Linked DNA regions of Homo sapiens: regions 1 and 3 are each linked to region 2. The links are contacts of gene promoters, found by promoter capture Hi-C in blood cells and fetal thymus (Javierre and others, 2016). All regions are on one chromosome and are shown on one strand. The core of a region is centred on a gene start or on the middle of the fragment in contact, and the rest is flanking DNA. Distances in the headings are between cores, read along the strand shown. Region 1 overlaps ICE1 (interactor of little elongation complex ELL subunit 1). Region 2 holds the start of DNAJC21 (DnaJ heat shock protein family (Hsp40) member C21). Region 3 holds the start of MED10 (mediator complex subunit 10).

Region 1 (2,700 bases), core at 185-2,684, about 30 Mb after region 2:
AAAAAACTCAGGCACTAGGTCCCTAATGAGATTCCCCGGCAGATAACACTTCACAAGTACTGTTACAACACGATACTGGAGCAATTAGGCATGTGCTGTGTGACTCTACTGGGAAACACTCTCAGAAGCTTGTGCCTGATTTCCCCAGACTTTGCCCCATATGCCTTTTCCCTTTACTGACTTCACTCTGTATGCTTTCCCTGTAAGAAACCACAGCCATGAGTATAACTATATGCTAAGTCCTATGAGTACTGAACATGAGCATGGTCTTAGGGACTCCAACACTGACAATCAAAAATGTCTTCAGAAGTAGTAAAACGTTCGCTGAGGAATGCAAGGCTCTGCTGTTTAAACTTTCACAAACATGAAAGACAAAGACTAAATGAAGGAGGCTGAAGAGACATTACAATAAAATATAACACATATTCCTGACATGACTTTGAGTAAGAAAGCAAAAAGCCACTCCCAGGCCAGCAAGCAAAATCTGAATAGGTCTACAGCTGCACCAATGTTACTATCCTGATTTGGAGGGGTGTAGGGTAATTATGTTGGAAAACGTTCATATCTGGAGGAAGTATACCCTGGAACATGTACAGGAGACAAAGTGTATGTGTGCAGACAATGATGAAGCAAATGCAATAACATGTTAACAATTTGTGAATTTGAGAACATCAGGGTTATTTGTATTATTGTGGCAACTTTATTGTAAGTCTGAAATTATTTCAAAATAAATTATTTTTAAAAATCACACTACTCACATTTATTGCTTTGCTGGGAGAGATCTGGCTAATTGTTCAGCATGACTCCTCTCTGATAAACCACTTATTCCTGGTGTGCTTGCTGTTTACTAACTGCTCTTATTTAAAATCAAAGCCTACACTGATATCTAGCAGAGATGAGTGTGTCTTCTCACCTGTTAAAACCTCTGGCACAGCGTGGACTGGAACAGGGCAACAAGGCAGGAATGTCCACCTCTCTCTAACTGTGCCCCAACCACACCCACCCACCAAAACCAAGCAGAGTGGCTTCTGGGTGCTGGGAAGGCAAACCCCAGTCTCTCCAGCCCCACCTCAGTTATCCCCACCTTTACTCTGTGCTTCATCTATCGTCAACTACTTTCTCCCCTCCAGGCCTTGGCACAACTTGTTCTGTCTACAACACTCTCCCTCCATCTTTTCCCTCTTAGTTAACTGCAAATCATCTTTCAGACCTCAATTTAGATTCACTTTTATGAAGCCTTCAGAGAGGTGGCACAATTCCTATATAACTGTCCCTCCTACATGCTCCCAGAGTACCTCATATGTCCCTTACCATAATATTTATATTATACCTATACTGTGGTTGCTTTTCTACTTAACTGTAACCTCAACAAGAATGAGCTCCATGCCTCTTCTGTTCATCATTGTATTCTGAAACACAGGATAGCATCATATATACATCGAAGCTCAATAAATGTGTTTGGCAAATGAATGAATTACAATTTTGTAAGCATTCCTTGTAAAAGAACCATTTCTAAATCAATAGGTCTGGAATAAAATGTTTCAAGTTCCAAACGATGACACTTAAATCACTAGCGATTATCAATGGGAGTCCAGCACAAGTTTATGGACAGGCTCAAATCTGTTCCAAGGACAACCATACATCAAACTCACTGAATCTAATCTAGATACATGAGATGAACAATATAATCATGTGTTTCAAACTCTCATCTGGATCCCCAGGAGAATCCAACTGTTTTGCACTGCAGTGAAGTCAGCAAATATGGGCCTCTCCTTCATCAGAATAAAGAGACTATGTCAGCTTCACTAGCTTGACTTAAACACACACAACTTAAGACTTTACTTAACCATACATAATACATAATATGACTAGAGTGAGGACCCACACTGTTATATCTGACTGCCAAAGTTCTGCAACCCAGAACTTTGGGCATTGGGCTATGGATCAGCAATGAACTACTGTAATCAATGAGCGTAACAAAACAGATATGAAGTGATTTGTGAGACTACGAGCAAAAGACACAGAAAATGTAGTCAATCTGCACACTTCTGAATCAAATAATGATCTCTGCAAAGGTACTGTTATCTCTTCAACAACTAAAGAAAAAAAGGACAGGGAGGATTAAGAAATGAAAGGAAGATTTTCAGTGCAAGCAAACCACTATTCAAGACAGAGAGGCAAGTTAGCCTAACATTACAGTTCAGAATGAAGTCACAACACCAATATGGTTGCCTACCATTGGAAAGACTGACTCCTATGTTACACTTGTAAATTCTCTGCATGATCAAAAAGTTAAAACTATAGCACAGAATATCTTCTCTCTGTACCTCTTTAGTTTCTCTCTCACACGAAAGTTTAATTGAAATATGGAACTTCACGTAGTTATAATACATGCGAAAATTATTTCCAAAAAGCGGTTATCTACTAATTGACCAAAAGAATTGCTTTTCCTTAATTCTCATTCTTTCCGATCTTGGTTCCCTCTGGAACTCTTGATTCCCTCTGGAACGCACTCCCTGTTTAACCCTCTAACATACTTTATCTGTTTCTCCTTTCCTCACCATTCCATGTTCCCCTTCATCAAAGGCCACACATCAGCTAGTTGGTTTTCCGTCACTGACTCTAATGATAGCATGTAATCCCATGAATTGGCCTCATGGTTTCAAAGATTCCTTTAAGTGACAGAACATAATGCCCCAT
Region 2 (2,700 bases), core at 169-2,668:
GAGAAGGGGAAGACTCAATACAAAATGGTAACTCCCTCCCTGAATTCCTGGAGCATATATTAGTTGTTCCATTAATCTAACCACCAATTATGTATGTTGCGATTTTTTTCTGGCAGTTGTATTTAACTTTTCATTTGTGTAAGGCAGAAAGTTGTTTTCCTAACAAGACTCTAAGACCCCTGTCTCAGCATTTCCAAATCTACTTAGTAGAGTGCAGTGACTTGCATATATTGGATACTCTGTAACCGTGTTTACTGATGAATGCTAATATGAAAGCCTCTTCATATGAACCTCAAAAAGCTGAAAGTCAACTACTCTCTTAGTTTCCCAGCCTGGAAGATCAGATTACTTCATAAAAGTCACACAGGCCTGGATTACAGACCAATGAAACATCCAAAGGAAGGATACTTCTAAGTAAACATACAAACTTTACTGGGGAAGCCGCCTGATTAAAACCTTCCCCGGCAGAATCATGTCCAAAGTGAAGTACAAGGTCTGCTTAAACAGCTTATTAAAAGAAAAAAAAAACAGCGAAAAAAGCGCATCCCTATTGAAAAGATATTTTACTAGCTCCCGTGTCTTAACTTCTTAACTAAGAAACGAAAAGAGCCATACATCAGGTTGAAGTATCTGGGATTCCCGGACGAGGTGGAGGGCAGCGGAGGAAAAACACCGAGAGGCTGCGCTGCAAGGGACGCAGGGAAAAGCAAGCCTGGGGCAGGTCTGAGTTCCGAGTTCCCGACTGCTCCCTCGTGGTGTCTGCGACCCGGTAGCGGGAGCAAGTGAGGTTGTTGGACTGCAGTTTTCCCCCTACAGTGGCGATGCGGGGCCGGGGTCGCGGGTATGAGGAGATGGGGTGTGAGCCGGGGTGCGCCAGGGCAGAGCGCTTCGCCCACCGAGACGGGCAGGGCGGCTCCGGGCACTGGCCGGGCGGGGCAAGGAGCTCCTAGGCCGCCAGGTCCCTCTCTGCTGGCTCCGCGGAGTCCGCCCGGGGGAAGGGAAGGTCGGGGAGGGCCGGGCTTCTCCGAGTGGCCGCGGGGGCTGCGGGACAGGTACTTACCCGGGTGCCATTTCAGGGCCAGCTTCCGATAGGCCTTCTTGAGCTCCTCCTCGCTGGCGTCGCGCCGCACCCCCAGCGCCTCATAGTGACACTTCATCGCCCGACCGGGCGGGCGGCCGGCGCTGGGGCCCGGGACGGGGTCGGGGCCCGGGCCCGGGCCGAAGCGGCGGCGGCGGCGGCGCTGGCAGTCCTCTCCGGCGGGAGTCCGCCGCCCGCACCGGGCCAGCCAGCGAGCCCGGCGGCGGCGGCGGCGGCGGCGGTGGTGTAGGTCAGTGAAGGCGCGCGGTGGCGGCAGACGACGCAGGCTGCGGCAAGCGGGAGCGCGGCGGGGGCGGTGCCGGCGGCCGCCGCTTCGCATGGGCTAGGGGTGGGCTCTGTGCCGGAAAGGGCCGCGCGGGAGGGGGTGGGGCCTCGGCGGGGTGAGAGGCGAGGCCCCGAGGAAGGAAGGCGGGGCCTTGGCGAGGAGAGAGGCGGGCCGCGCAGGAGAAAGGCGGGAGCTTGGCGGGGAAAGAGGCGGGCCGCGTGGGAGGAAGGTAGGCCTTGGCCGGGAAGAACAGGAGGAAGGCGGGACCTTGGTGTGAGAGGCGGGGCCTCGGCGGGGCGAGAGGCGGGGCCGCGCGGAAGGGAGGCAGGGCCACGCTGGTGTCATTGTGAGGGGCACAGATGGCGGTCAGTGTGAGTGGCAGCCGACCTGAGGGCTGAAGGGGGAGATAGGAGCTGGGATGGGAGAGGATTCTGGAAAATATCTGATTATAATTTCTCAATGGATCCCCGTTTTTATAGATAAGGCGATTCAGACTCCAAGTGGTCAAGTGGTTGGCTCAAGCCTCCTCAGCTAATACAGTAGCAGAATTCGGTTGGACTGAATATCAGGTTTTTTTTTTAATCTCTTTAATTCTCTTCAGCTGCCACTTAAGATATCTGGTATTGATCATCTTGACCAATATGCTTGAGAAAGGACAGTTAGATTATTTAAGCGGAAACAATTTAAAAGGGAAGCATCAACACACTTAATGAAAAGCCTTACCACCAACATGGATGAAATTGTGCTGATCTATCCATCCAACACACTTTAATCCTAACTTTCTGGCCTCTAATCCTACCTTTCCAAGATTGGTTTAGGTTAAGAAAGCAGTTAAAGGATAGTATTTAACTGGTAGGTTTTGGTTGATCTGACTATCTGCACAATTATTCCAAACACTTTGAAAGGTATCAAAATAATACCATAATTATTAAAATGCATTAATACACCAATATATTTCACTGTAATGTGGAATGTTTACATGCATCAGTTAGGTGTGGGTTGTATTTACTAACCATGTATGGTTAGCTATGTTGCTAATATCTATTGCACAGGGTTGGCGTACCCAAGCGGTTTAGTAAGGTTATCCTTCTCTTCCCCAATATGCTGCCCCCAGTAAAATAAAAAACCCACGCTAAGCTTCATCAGGTTACTTCACACGCCACTGACCAACCAACTCACTACTCAGAATTCATACACTTCCCTTTTTTCCAGAGGAAGATTCTACACAGTCTCAGTTAGTTGGTAAATTGGTAATGGATAAGGATTGAGAAGTCTGAGTTTGGGGGAGAATGAAACCTTTCCCCTCCTGAGAACAGAATTGGGATGGTGGGCGGGG
Region 3 (2,700 bases), core at 122-2,621, about 29 Mb after region 2:
ACTAGCAAAGAGATACCCTTAAATTTTTAAAATAAATACTTACCAAAGCCTAAGTTCCATCAATTATCTATCTTTCTTACTTATGAAATTGAGAAAGGCCGTTCACTCCATGTCGCTACCTCTACCTAATAACTTAAAATTTTTTATTTGTCTAATATTTTATTTCCACCTTTTTTTTTTTTTTTTGAGTCTTGCTCTGTTGCCCAGGCTGGAGTGCAGTGGCATGATCTCGGCTTACTGCAACCTCTGCCTCCTGGGTTCAAGCAATTCTCCTGTCTCAGCCTCCCAAGTAGCTGGGACTACAGGCGCACACCACCATGTCTGACTAATTTTTGTATTTTTAGTAGAGACAGGGTTTCTCCATATTGGTCAGGTCGGTCTCGAACTCCTCACCTCAGGTAATCCACCTGCCTTGGCCTTCCAAAGTTCTGGGATTACAGGCCTGAGCCACCACGCCCAGCCTCCATCTTGTTTTATAATTCCCTAAAGTTAATTGTTGTTAAATCAGGAGAGAAGTATTTTATGTAACATTTCTGTTTATCAGCCCAGCCCACCAACTGGAGTGCCCTGATTCCATAAGTTTGGCAAGTCACTTACCTTCTCTGGCTTTCCATTTCTGGTCACAGCTGGGAGAGGCTCTGAAGATCATCTAGCAAAGGAGCTCCCTCACTTTGCCTGTTTCTAGGCACTGAAAAGTACAGGCCACAAATATATTCAGTAAAATAAATCACTTGAGAAATTCAAACAGGCTAGAGGAGATATCCGCTATCATAGGAGATCGGGCAGAAAAGTTTCTTAAACATAAGAGTGAAATGACCTAAACTGAATTTCAATGAGATAAACAGCAGTTTACTAAGACAGGGCAACCCCACAGGGTGCTGTTTGGTCAGAATTGGCCCGAGGAGGTGAGACCCTGACCTACGAAGGCAGCAGGTGTCCGGGAAGCATGGTTAGCAGCAAGAGCTAGGGGAGGTGGCCGCCGATTACATAGAAGAAAGGAGGCAGGCAGGCGCTGATCCCAGGGGTTCTGGTAGAGGGGCAGGGAAACTACCGTTATTGGTCCTTCATGCAAACTTTAGGATTTTCATCCATGTGTGTATTGCTTGAAGATGCTGCATTGCAGAAAGTCTTCAACTTCTCCCATGACCGAGGCAGGTCTGATGAGAGTGCAAACAGTTAGTACTCGCCCAGCTGCGCGCCGAGGCCTCCTCCAGAATCCAGACCGCATCCCCGAAAGCCCGCCCTGCCCCGCACTTAGGCCCCGCCCCAACACGCCCGTCCCGATAACGAGGCTCCGCCCCCAAGAGCTCGCCCGCGCTCCCCCAGAGGAAACGGAAGTCGTATCTGTCCGGACGGAAGCAGGAAGCGGGAGCGTAGGGCCACGCCTGCGGCGCTGCTGGTTGAGGCTGTGTGGGTCGGGGACGGGCCGAGGCGATGGCGGAGAAGTTTGACCACCTAGAGGAGCACCTGGAGAAGTTCGTGGAGAACATTCGGCAGCTCGGCATCATCGTCAGTGACTTCCAGCCCAGCAGCCAGGCCGGGCTCAACCAAAAGCTGTGAGTGGCGGCCCGAGGCTGCCGGGGTCTCCCCAGGGCCTGGCCGGGAAGCGTGTGCTAGGGGAGCGGGGATCTAGGGAGCCCGAGCCGAGCCTGACCGCTACTCGTGCCCCGCCAGCCCTCTGGTCTGGTCCCGGAGCCCGGGGCGCCTTTCCTGGCTGTGTTCAGAGGGCGGGGCCCGCGCTCCAGCCTGTTGCCAAGAGCCAACCTCTTTGAGGCCCCTTTGGAGACGTCGTCATGGCCAGATGATATACTTTACGTTTCCCTATCAAGGGAATCATGCTTTCTCTTCTAGCGTCTCCCCTCTCATGTGTAACCCCCTCCCAGCCTTTTCCTCCTGGAGCCCTTCTGGGAATTCAGTCCCTGTCTCCAGAGGGGAGGCAGGCTCCACAGTGAGTGCACGCCCTAAACTAGGCCTCAGAAGGTGAGGCTCCGAAGCCACCTGCCGCATAGGCCTGACAGTGGAGGAAATAGCGGGGAGGTGGTGCTGAGAAAGGTTGCAGAACGTTTATTATTATTATTTCTTGGCAACAGCCTTGTGCTGCCCATGTTGCTAGGCCCTGGGTTGGAGAAAAGGCAAATGCAAGTACAGCACTTTCGAGAAGGGCTTTATATGTGGCACGGACATAGAAAATGTTGCACTCGAGGTTCCATACCTAGTGCTGTGGGAATAGCCAGACCAGCCTGATGCTGTAGGAAGGCTCCAGAGAGGAGAGGAAGCTAAACCAGACAGTATGGCTTTCTTTCCCTCAGACTTTGAGTATAGTCCGCTGCCTCATGTGTTCGCTGAAACCGCACACACAGTCATATGCACAGTCAGGTAATTGTTTTTGAGAGAAGGTTCATATTTTTCATCAGGTTCCCTCTCCATCCCCCTTACTGGCAATTTCTAGTTGAGAAGGAAAGTAACAAATATTTAAGGGTATTTTGTAACTCTAACGGTGTCCTAGGAATCCTGTAGCTAACCAAAGAGGTCAGAACCGTGTGTAACCCGCATAGCTGTGAGGAGAACGAACTTGCGTGGAGCCCCGGTTGGCTGGGTAGCTCTGTGGGTGGTGCTTATGCTGTCAAGCGAAATTAACCAGATGCCTGTGTGTTTGCCTTTCCCCCAGGAATTTTATTGTTACTGGCTTACAGGATATTG

The links. The method cuts DNA at HindIII sites, captures the fragments that hold promoters and counts their contacts. A CHiCAGO score of 5 or more calls a contact.
Region 1: a contact is called between a fragment that was not itself captured here and the fragment with the promoter of DNAJC21 in region 2, in 1 of 17 cell types (neutrophils). The highest score is 12.9, in neutrophils.
Region 3: a contact is called between the fragment with the promoter of MED10 here and the fragment with the promoter of DNAJC21 in region 2, in 1 of 17 cell types (non-activated CD4 T cells). The highest score is 5.1, in non-activated CD4 T cells.

Annotation. Positions count from the first base shown.
Region 1 is chr5:5,426,501-5,429,200 of GRCh38, reverse strand. The region is part of intron 1 of ICE1 (interactor of little elongation complex ELL subunit 1); the gene reads right to left. Among named protein-coding and RNA genes, the nearest start is that of ICE1, 5.2 kb to the right of the region's middle. The HindIII fragment of the contact is 2,607 bases long and covers 131-2,700 here.
Region 2 is chr5:34,928,277-34,930,976 of GRCh38, reverse strand. It overlaps DNAJC21 (DnaJ heat shock protein family (Hsp40) member C21), which reads right to left and starts at 1,418. Exons shown (of 12, transcript NM_001012339.3): 1 at 1,061-1,418. The coding sequence starts at 1,157. LOC124900961 (a long non-coding RNA gene) reads left to right here and starts at 1,296. Exons shown (of 2, transcript XR_007058731.1): 1 at 1,296-1,328; 2 at 1,844-2,700. RefSeq lists enhancers at 653-822, 289-934 and silencers at 963-1,162, 1,193-1,262, 1,273-1,742. The HindIII fragment of the contact is 5,598 bases long and covers 1-2,503 here.
Region 3 is chr5:6,377,218-6,379,917 of GRCh38, reverse strand. It overlaps MED10 (mediator complex subunit 10), which reads left to right and starts at 1,371. Exons shown (of 4, transcript NM_032286.3): 1 at 1,371-1,556; 2 at 2,669-2,700. The coding sequence starts at 1,435. RefSeq lists enhancers at 917-1,136, 1,427-1,636. The HindIII fragment of the contact is 6,030 bases long and covers 1-2,700 here.